Regions from separate parts of the Homo sapiens genome. Here regions 1 and 3 are each linked to region 2. Evidence: promoter capture Hi-C in 16 types of primary human blood cells and fetal thymus (Javierre and others, 2016). All regions are on one chromosome and are shown on one strand. Each heading gives the region's core, a stretch centred on a gene start or on the middle of the fragment in contact. The rest is flanking DNA. Distances are from core to core; before and after follow the strand shown. Region 1 overlaps LRRFIP1 (LRR binding FLII interacting protein 1). Region 2 holds the start of HES6 (hes family bHLH transcription factor 6). Region 3 overlaps LRRFIP1 (LRR binding FLII interacting protein 1).

Region 1 (2,700 bases), core at 192-2,691, 580 kb after region 2:
AGGTACAATCCAGAACTGAATACCAGCAACCAGCACACTGTGGACAGGCCAGGCGGCAGGCGCACCTGCGGATGGAAACGCAGTGGAGAACGCCGCCGGCCTCTTTGCCAAGAACTCAATCTCCCTGGCTTGGGCCCCCTCCTCTCCACTGCCAGTCCCACTGCGGCCCCAGCCAGGACTAAGCCTCTGTGGTCCTTCTCCCCATGACTTCACTAAAACGGCTCTGGCTGAGGCCGCCAGGACCCTCCCTTTTGCAAGGTGCAAGTGACATTCTTCCCCGGGTCTCCCTTGGGTCTCTCTGCAGCATGGACATGGCTGTTTCCCCTCTGCCCCCACCCTTCACCCTGCTCCTCCCTCCCAGTGCCCTGAGGGCGACCCTTCCTCTGCTCACCCCTTCCTTGTTTCTGAGGTTCCCGGGGCTCCACCCTGGGTACTCTGCTCCACTGACCTACTTAGGAGACCTCATGCAACTATGTGGCTTTGACCACCCTGACCGCTGACGGCTCCCCTCTCCCCTATGGCCCAGGCGAATGCACGTGAACCTTTGCCAGACCTTTCCCTGTGGGTAGTGCTCAGCTGCCTCAAGGCAACATTCCCAGAACAGAACTGAACTCTTCCCCGGGTCCCCGCTCCACCAACCCAGTCAGTTCCACAGTGTCTGTGAGTGATAACGCAACATCACACCATCCTCCCCAAGCACCCTGTCAGAGGCCCGGAAGTCATTCCATGTGCCTCGTCCATTAAGGCTGAGCTGTTTAGGCTGCTGTAGCAGAAGGGCATAGACTAGGTGGCTTATAAACAACAGAAATTAACTTCCCCCAGTTCCAGAGGCTGTGAAGCCCAAGATCAAGGTGCCAGCAGATTCAGTGTCTGGGGAGGGCCCCCTTTCTTGTTCATAGAAGGGGTGAGGGCCCCCTTCCCATTGTGTCCTCACATGGCGGGATGGGGGGGGAAAGAACTCCCCGGGTTTGTTTTATAAGGGCACTAATCTCATTTACTCTCATGCCCTAATCACCTCCTAAAAGCTCCCACCTCCTAATACAGTCAGCTTGGTGGTTAGGATTTCTATACATGAATTTAGGGGAGACACAAACGTTCAGACTACAGCACCTTCTTTCACTCCGCATCTCACAGAATGCTCACAATCTTACTCATTTCTTTTAAACTAAAAATTCTAATAGTTTAGTTAAACTGATGCAGGGCAGGCGAGCCCTAAAGTGGAGCTTAGCCCATCTGGGTTCTTGGCCTTGCTCAGGAAAGAATTCAAGGGCAAGTCATAGGTAGAAGAAAACAGCTTTACTGAAGTGTCAGTGTTCCAGCTCCCTGCCGGCTCCCGCAGGGCAGGGCTACCCCGCAGGCAGAGAGCAGCACCTCAGGGCAGTTTTGCAGTCCTGTTTATACTCACTTGTAATTGCATGCAGATTAAGGAGCGGTTTATGCAAGGAAGAGGTAGTAATCACTGGGTCATTGCCGTGGAAAGGAGCGGTAATGCCTGGGTGCCGTCATGGCAACGGTAAATTGACATAGCGCTGGTGGGCGTGTCTGATTGAAGACTGCTTTCCCCACCGGGCCTGTTTTAGCTAGTCCTCAATCTGGCCCAGTGTCCAAGCCCCGCCTCTGGAGTCAAGTCCCGCCTCCTACCTCAGAAGCAGTTCCAGTTTTTAATGTTAACCAACACAGGGAAAGTGAGGTTTCACTATAAATAGCCACACCGAGAATGGGAACATAAAACTGTCCCAGTTATAGGGATTATTAATGGATTTCGCTGCGGAACAAACAAGGATTTCAGGTCAGTTTATGACATATTGTTATATATCTTCAAATCCTAAGAGAAAGAAAAAAAATACATTCAGACATTGGACCTGAAAAAAAAATTGTCCTTATCTTTTCTAAGGGGTTAAGAGCACATGGCACACACCACACCTTAGCACCCTGAAGAATAAAATCATATACGTGATGGTGAGAATGTAAGAACCCTGCACTGCGTTCAGTAACATCCCCCAAAAGTTCATGTCCACCCAGAACCCGTGGATGGGGCCTTATTTGGACATAGGCTTTTTGCGTGTACAATCAAGTTAAGATGAGGTCGTACTAGATTAGGGTGGGCCCTCATTCAATGACTTTCTTATAAGGAAACAGAAATTTGCACACAGAGACACAAATACCCAGGGAGGGGGCCACGTGGAGACGGAGGCAGAGCCTGGTGTGATGTGTCTACAAGCCAGAGGGCCGAGGGCTGCCAGCAGCACCAGAAGCTGGAGAGACGCCTGGAACACCTTCCCCTCAGAGCCTCCAGAAGGAACCCACCTGGCCCAATACCTCGACTTTGGACTTCCGGTCTCCGGAACTGTGAGAGAATACAGTTCTGTTATTTTAAGTCACCCAGTTTGTGGCACTTTGTTATGGCATCCCTACAGACCAACACCTGCATGCTGTCATGGGTCACGCTAGGTGCACGAGGACTCAGTCTTCAGCCAGATTTTACATTTTGTCCAAAGGAATCATGGCAACACCTATTTTGGGGGCTGATAGGTACCTGGGTCAGGAGAGCCTATGCCACTCAGCTGGGCCACAGAACTACAGCGGATTGACTCAGGAAACAGGAAAACAGTGCCCTCTCTCTTCCTGGAGCTGTCCCCATGCACAGCACAGAGAATGTGTGCCCACTCCCGTGTTGCACCAGGGACACAACTGTCCCCC
Region 2 (2,700 bases), core at 192-2,691:
GGCCTTCCAGCCCATCCTGCCAGGGCCACCCCTCACCTTCCCTACCTACCAGCGCTTCTGTGAGGCCAGGCTCTGCTGGGGGTGCGGGGAGGTGGACAGGGGGTCCTAGGTCAGACTGTGCCCTTGTCCAGGGACGCTTATAGCCTGGAGGGGCTCAGAACAGACCCTGACGATCCCAGCCCGGGTGAGTAGTGGGGACTGAGGAAGGCAGGTGCTGTGCGGGGCAGGCTGGTAGTCGGCCGGCTGGGGTCCGAGAAGGCGTCTCCCGTTCCGGCTCCTCCACACAGCGTCTGGACTGACGCCGGGGCAGGAGCCGGGCAGGGGTCCCCAGGACGCTGCCCGAGGGCGCGGCCCCACCGCCCACGCACCCCGCCCGCGGCCAAGAGGAACCCAGCAGATGGGCGGCCCGCCGCGATGGGGGAGTCGCGGGCGTCTGGCCGGGACAAGCGCCCGCCGCCTGCCCGCCGGACAAAGGGTGCGAGACAAAGGCGCGGCCAACACCTGTCGCTCTTGGCGCGGCCGCCGCTTTTCTCGCTTTTCTCCGCCGAAGCGGCCGCAGCTGCCAACTGTCACGGGCATCAAGTTACAGGACCAGACGGCAGCTTCGGCGGGCCTGGGAGGCGGGGCGCGGAGGACGAGGAGGGGAGGAGGGAGGCGGGCGGGGGGCAGTGGAAGGGAGGGAGGGGGCCCCGGGGGCCAAAGGGGACTAGAGGGAGATGGGGGAGCTCAGAGGGGGGCGGGGCTGGTGACCCGCAGAGCCCAGGGGGAGAGCGGCGCGGGCGGGAGCACCCGGGACCCCGCCCCACTAGGACTCCAGTGCTGGCGGAGGGCGGCGTCGGGGGTCCGGCCCGGCGTCTGGACGAGTCCGGAAGAAACTCAGGGGCCGCCCCGCCACCGCTGCCCAATGGACCCTGCCTCCCCGGGGCTTGGCAGCCACCCCAGCCGGGACCTGAAACCCCTCTAGGTCCAGAGACCGCGGACTTGACTGTGGCTCTGCACACCAGGGACGCATCTCCTGGGGCCAGTGGCCCCAGCGCTCAACTCTGGAGGCGCCATCGGCGAAGGAGGGAAATGAATGAATTAATGGGTGAATGAATGAGTGGACGGACGGACGGACGGACGGGTGGACGCCTGCTCGCACGCGCGGCAGATCAGTGGTCCTAGAGCAGCAGACGGAGAGAAACAAGCGCGGGCAGGGCCGCAGCTACCCGGGGTCGCCGCCCCGGTGCCGCCCCCGCGGGGGTCTAGGGAAGGCCGGGCTGGGGGCCCCGCCTAGCTCAGCCAGCTGCCCGACCGCCAGAGCCGCTGGGCCGGACAAAGCGCGCTGCCCCGATTGGCTGCAGCGCGCCTCGCGGTCGGCCGCCCCGGGCCCGCGCGGCCAATCGGCGCATTGAGATGCAAATAAGCGGCTATAAAAGGGGCGGGACCGCGGCGGGCCGGAAGCCGCGAGGAGCGCGGACGGCTGGGCTGCTGCTGGGCGGCCGCGGGGCAGCGGAGGGCGCCGGCACTCCGGTCCCCGCCGCTCCCCGTCCCCGCTGCTCCTAGCCCCTGCCGCGTCCCCGGCGGAGCGGGCATGGCGCCACCCGCGGCGCCTGGCCGGGACCGTGTGGGCCGTGAGGATGAGGACGGCTGGGAGACGCGAGGGGACCGCAAGGTGCGGGCCGGGGCCATGGGCGAGCAAGCGGGCGGGAGGCCGTGCGGGGCTGGGATTCAGTGCCCCGCTCCCCGCAGGCCCGGAAGCCCCTGGTGGAGAAGAAGCGGCGCGCGCGGATCAACGAGAGCCTGCAGGAGCTGCGGCTGCTGCTGGCGGGCGCCGAGGTGCGGCGGCCGGGCAGGCGCCGTGGGGCTGCGGGGCGGGCGGGCGGGTCCGGGAGCGCGCTGCCGGCTCACCGCCCTTCCCGCCCGCGCAGGTGCAGGCCAAGCTGGAGAACGCCGAAGTGCTGGAGCTGACGGTGCGGCGGGTCCAGGGTGTGCTGCGGGGCCGGGCGCGCGGTGAGTGGCGGCGGGGCGGGCGGGGGCGCCGGCCGCGGGCGCCTGTAACCCCTGCCAGACGGAGGACTTCCCTCCCGGCGCCCCTGTCCTGTCGGCGGCGAGGGCTCCCACCGGAGCAGGGTGCGCCCCCGCGTCTCCTGGGTGAGCCGCGTCCCCGCGGGCCGGGTGGGCTGGGCCACGCAGTCGCCGCTCACCGCGCGGGACGCGGCTCTCTCCCTCCCACCCTCGGGCCCAGAGCGCGAGCAGCTGCAGGCGGAAGCGAGCGAGCGCTTCGCTGCCGGCTACATCCAGTGCATGCACGAGGTGCACACGTTCGTGTCCACGTGCCAGGCCATCGACGCTACCGTCGCTGCCGAGCTCCTGAACCATCTGCTCGAGTCCATGCCGCTGCGTGAGGGCAGCAGCTTCCAGGATCTGCTGGGGGACGCCCTGGCGGGGCCACCTAGAGCCCCTGGACGGAGTGGCTGGCCTGCGGGGGGCGCTCCGGGATCCCCAATACCCAGCCCCCCGGGTCCTGGGGACGACCTGTGCTCCGACCTGGAGGAGGCCCCTGAGGCTGAACTGAGTCAGGCTCCTGCTGAGGGGCCCGACTTGGTGCCCGCAGCCCTGGGCAGCCTGACCACAGCCCAAATTGCCCGGAGTGTCTGGAGGCCTTGGTGACCAATGCCAGCCAGAGTCCTGCGGGGGTGGGCCCGGCCCTCCCTGGAT
Region 3 (2,862 bases), core at 202-2,701, 540 kb after region 2:
TGTCAAGAAAGGAGTCTGAAGACCCAGCCACAGCCTCCAGCTTGGGCTCTGTCACCTACAGTTATGTGAGCCTGGATAAGTTACTCGGTTTTTGAACCCCAGCCCTCATTAAAGAAGTAGGAGGGGACGTAATCTTTAAGAGCTTCCTTCCCCTCTGAAATTCTTTGGGTTCATGCCAGAGGTGAATTATTTGTACACTGAGATTGTCCACAGACTGTGTCTGTTTTGCTACTGGAAATCTCCAGGCTTTGCTTTTCAGAATAATAAGCTTCTTTAAAGTCCTTCGCATCCTAAAATAGCAAACGTATTAATCGGGAACAAAATGATTGATGTTACTTTATTGATGACTCACACATTGACCTATTCAAACCTCACAACACAATCTTGGGCTTAGCAGCTACTCCCACTGGCGCTAAGAAATAAATACGCTATACAGTATCTTCCATGCAAGTGAACTTCTACTCTTGCTGTTAATACATTTCTTGCTTTTCCTGAGATGAATGAATCTTCATATTTCCTTCAATTGCCTCAACATGATGGAAATACAAGAACCATGACTACCACTAACAGAGACGTGCGGGACTGAGAGGCGAGGGCGGCTGGGCCTCCCCTGTGCCGTTTCCTCTCCAGGTGACAGGTTTCCCTCCAGGCAGCACGTCTGGGCTCCACTCCCTTCACCTTTGCCTGCTCTGCTCAAGACTGTCCTACAAACCCCAGACCTCTAGGGTTTCACAAAAACATTTAAATTGTTTCCTCTGAGAAGAAGGCTGAAAGCTCCACCAGCACCAGGGCAGCACACAGCAACTGACAATCTTTCCTATATTCAGTGGATATTCCCTGGAACCAGCTATAAAAGAAACAGCAGCTGTCATGTTTATCCTCCATGAACTTATCTACTTGGATGAGGTAGGGGAGGAGTTACATCATACCCAGAAAAATAAAAAGGCTTAAATCACAGCAGCTCTCAGGTGTATGCCGACATAAGCAGTAGTTAACATTTTAGCATGGTACAAAAATAGCAAAACAAGTTTCACAGCTATTTCATTTCTACCATTATTTTCCTTATGTAGAAAAGTAAAGCTCATTGGGCCGGGTGTGGTGGCTCATGCCTGTAATCCCAGCACTTTGGGAGGCCGAGATGGGAGGATCACTTGAGGTCAGGAGTTTGAGACCACCCCGGCCAATGTGGTGAAACCCCATCTCTACTAAAAATACAAAAATTAGCCGGGTGAGGTGGCAGGCACCTGTAGTCCCAGCTGCTTCAGAGGTCTGAGGCAGGAGAATCGGTTGCACCTGGGAAACGGAGGTTGCAGTGAGCTGAGATTGTGCCATTGCATTCCAGCCTGGGCAATCAAGCACGACTGTCTCAATAAAAAAAAAGAAGGAAAGTAAGTTCGTTCTTTGAATGTTCTCTTCTGTCTGGAAATTACCAGGCAGAGAACAGAAAAGTTTGACAGAGTGAAGACTTCCCAGTATGCATTCAAGACAAGGACTTCTGTCCTAAGAGGCAGCTTTGGTAAAAAGAAATCCTTCAGCCCCAATACTGGGGTATGAGACAGCAGGGCTGCCAAGAAAAGCTGACAACAGCGACAAAAGCAGCAGCAGCAGCCGTGGCAGCCACAGCTATATCTTGCACATTTACTACCTGCCAGCCCCTGCCTGCAGCATTGCATACAGTGGTGACAGTTATCAGTACCAGTTCCGAGTCAGCAGGCCTGGGTCTGAACTGGCTCCACTGCTGACTAGCTGTGAGGGCTTGGAAAGTCCCTGACCTTTCTGAGCCTCAGTTTCCTCTTTATCTGAAAAACTGAGAGAAAACGATCTGCTCCCCATGAGGTTACAGCAAGGGTTAGAGAAGACCTTCACATAAAACACCAGGTGGGCGCAGCAGGGGTTTGGTAAATATTAGCTACTTTCACTACTTAGTGTCTTCTTTGACAGCTACTGACCTAAGAGTATAAATCCGGTTCAGAGAAGTTTAGAAGCACGATGAGAAGACAAGCATGCTAAGGCACCCACCTAGCAGAGAAGCAGGAAAAACTGGGGAAACTTCAGAGGAGGGGGACAGAGGTTCTCAACCCACAGGGAAAGCCCACTCCTTTCCCTAGGAAAATCACACAGCCACGTGCCACATACAGTAAAAAAGACAGAAGGATCACAGGTGGCGTTGCTTTGATCATCTTCATTACACAAATAAATGAAACATTTTGGTTAAAATTAAGAGTAAATCTTCATTATAGTGATTTAAGATAAATTACTTCTCTACTACAAAGTAGTTATACTTTAGATTCAAGGGAAAACTACTTACCTAGTTTTAAAGTTGTAAAGTTACAATCCCAAGGAGAAACCACTGGAAACACTGGCCCTTTCCAAAATGAATGAATGAGTCTCGGAATACATATAATTTCTGTTGCCAGGTGTGTGTGTGTTTTGGTTTATTGTTTTGGAATCTGGCCTGGGGCAGGGGGATTATACTACTGGTCTATAATCAAATACATGGCAATTTTGAATGATTAAATCTTGCATGTAGTCAAAATATTTAATTTGGGAGAAAGAAACGAATTTACTTAATTTTATCTAGGTAGTCTGAATAATAAAAGTTCTAGTAAGTCCATTCCATGAAAACAAGCTTCTTTATTTAAAAAAAAAAAACAAAAAACAAATTTGGGCGGCCTCCAGTAATAACAGTGAGGTAATAAAAATCCTCTTCTCCTGTCCCATGTCTAACACGTAGTGAGATGTAATGGACTTACTGATTGGTGAAGAGGTTGGTAATCTAAACATTATGGCCTCTGGGGCTTCAAGATCACTCCTTTAAATACGAGCAGATATTCTGGAAGCACTGGCATATGAGTAACCAGT

What was found. Contacts are between HindIII fragments. The CHiCAGO score rates a contact against its expected background, and 5 or more counts as called.
Region 1: a fragment that was not itself captured here is called in contact with the fragment with the promoter of HES6 in region 2 in 1 of 17 cell types (neutrophils); the score reaches 5.0 in neutrophils.
Region 3: a fragment that was not itself captured here is called in contact with the fragment with the promoter of HES6 in region 2 in 3 of 17 cell types (fetal thymus, neutrophils and erythroblasts); the score reaches 6.3 in fetal thymus.

What each region holds. Positions count from the first base shown.
Region 1 is chr2:237,661,681-237,664,380 of GRCh38, reverse strand. The region is part of intron 1 of LRRFIP1 (LRR binding FLII interacting protein 1); the gene reads right to left. Among named protein-coding and RNA genes, the nearest start is that of LRRFIP1, 35 kb to the right of the region's middle. RefSeq lists enhancers at 1-170, 1,157-1,698. The HindIII fragment of the contact is 4,313 bases long and covers 1-2,700 here.
Region 2 is chr2:238,238,779-238,241,478 of GRCh38, reverse strand. HES6 (hes family bHLH transcription factor 6) reads left to right here and starts at 1,441. Exons shown (of 4, transcript NM_018645.6): 1 at 1,441-1,654; 2 at 1,732-1,818; 3 at 1,911-1,992; 4 at 2,228-2,700. The coding sequence starts at 1,574. The coding sequence ends at 2,652. RefSeq lists enhancers at 1-35, 36-541, 2,442-2,700 and a silencer at 1,199-1,718. The HindIII fragment of the contact is 3,888 bases long and covers 1-2,700 here.
Region 3 is chr2:237,695,548-237,698,409 of GRCh38, reverse strand. The region is part of intron 1 of LRRFIP1 (LRR binding FLII interacting protein 1); the gene reads right to left. Among named protein-coding and RNA genes, the nearest start is that of LRRFIP1, 69 kb to the right of the region's middle. RefSeq lists a silencer at 4-53 and an enhancer at 1,117-1,326. The HindIII fragment of the contact is 2,361 bases long and covers 271-2,631 here.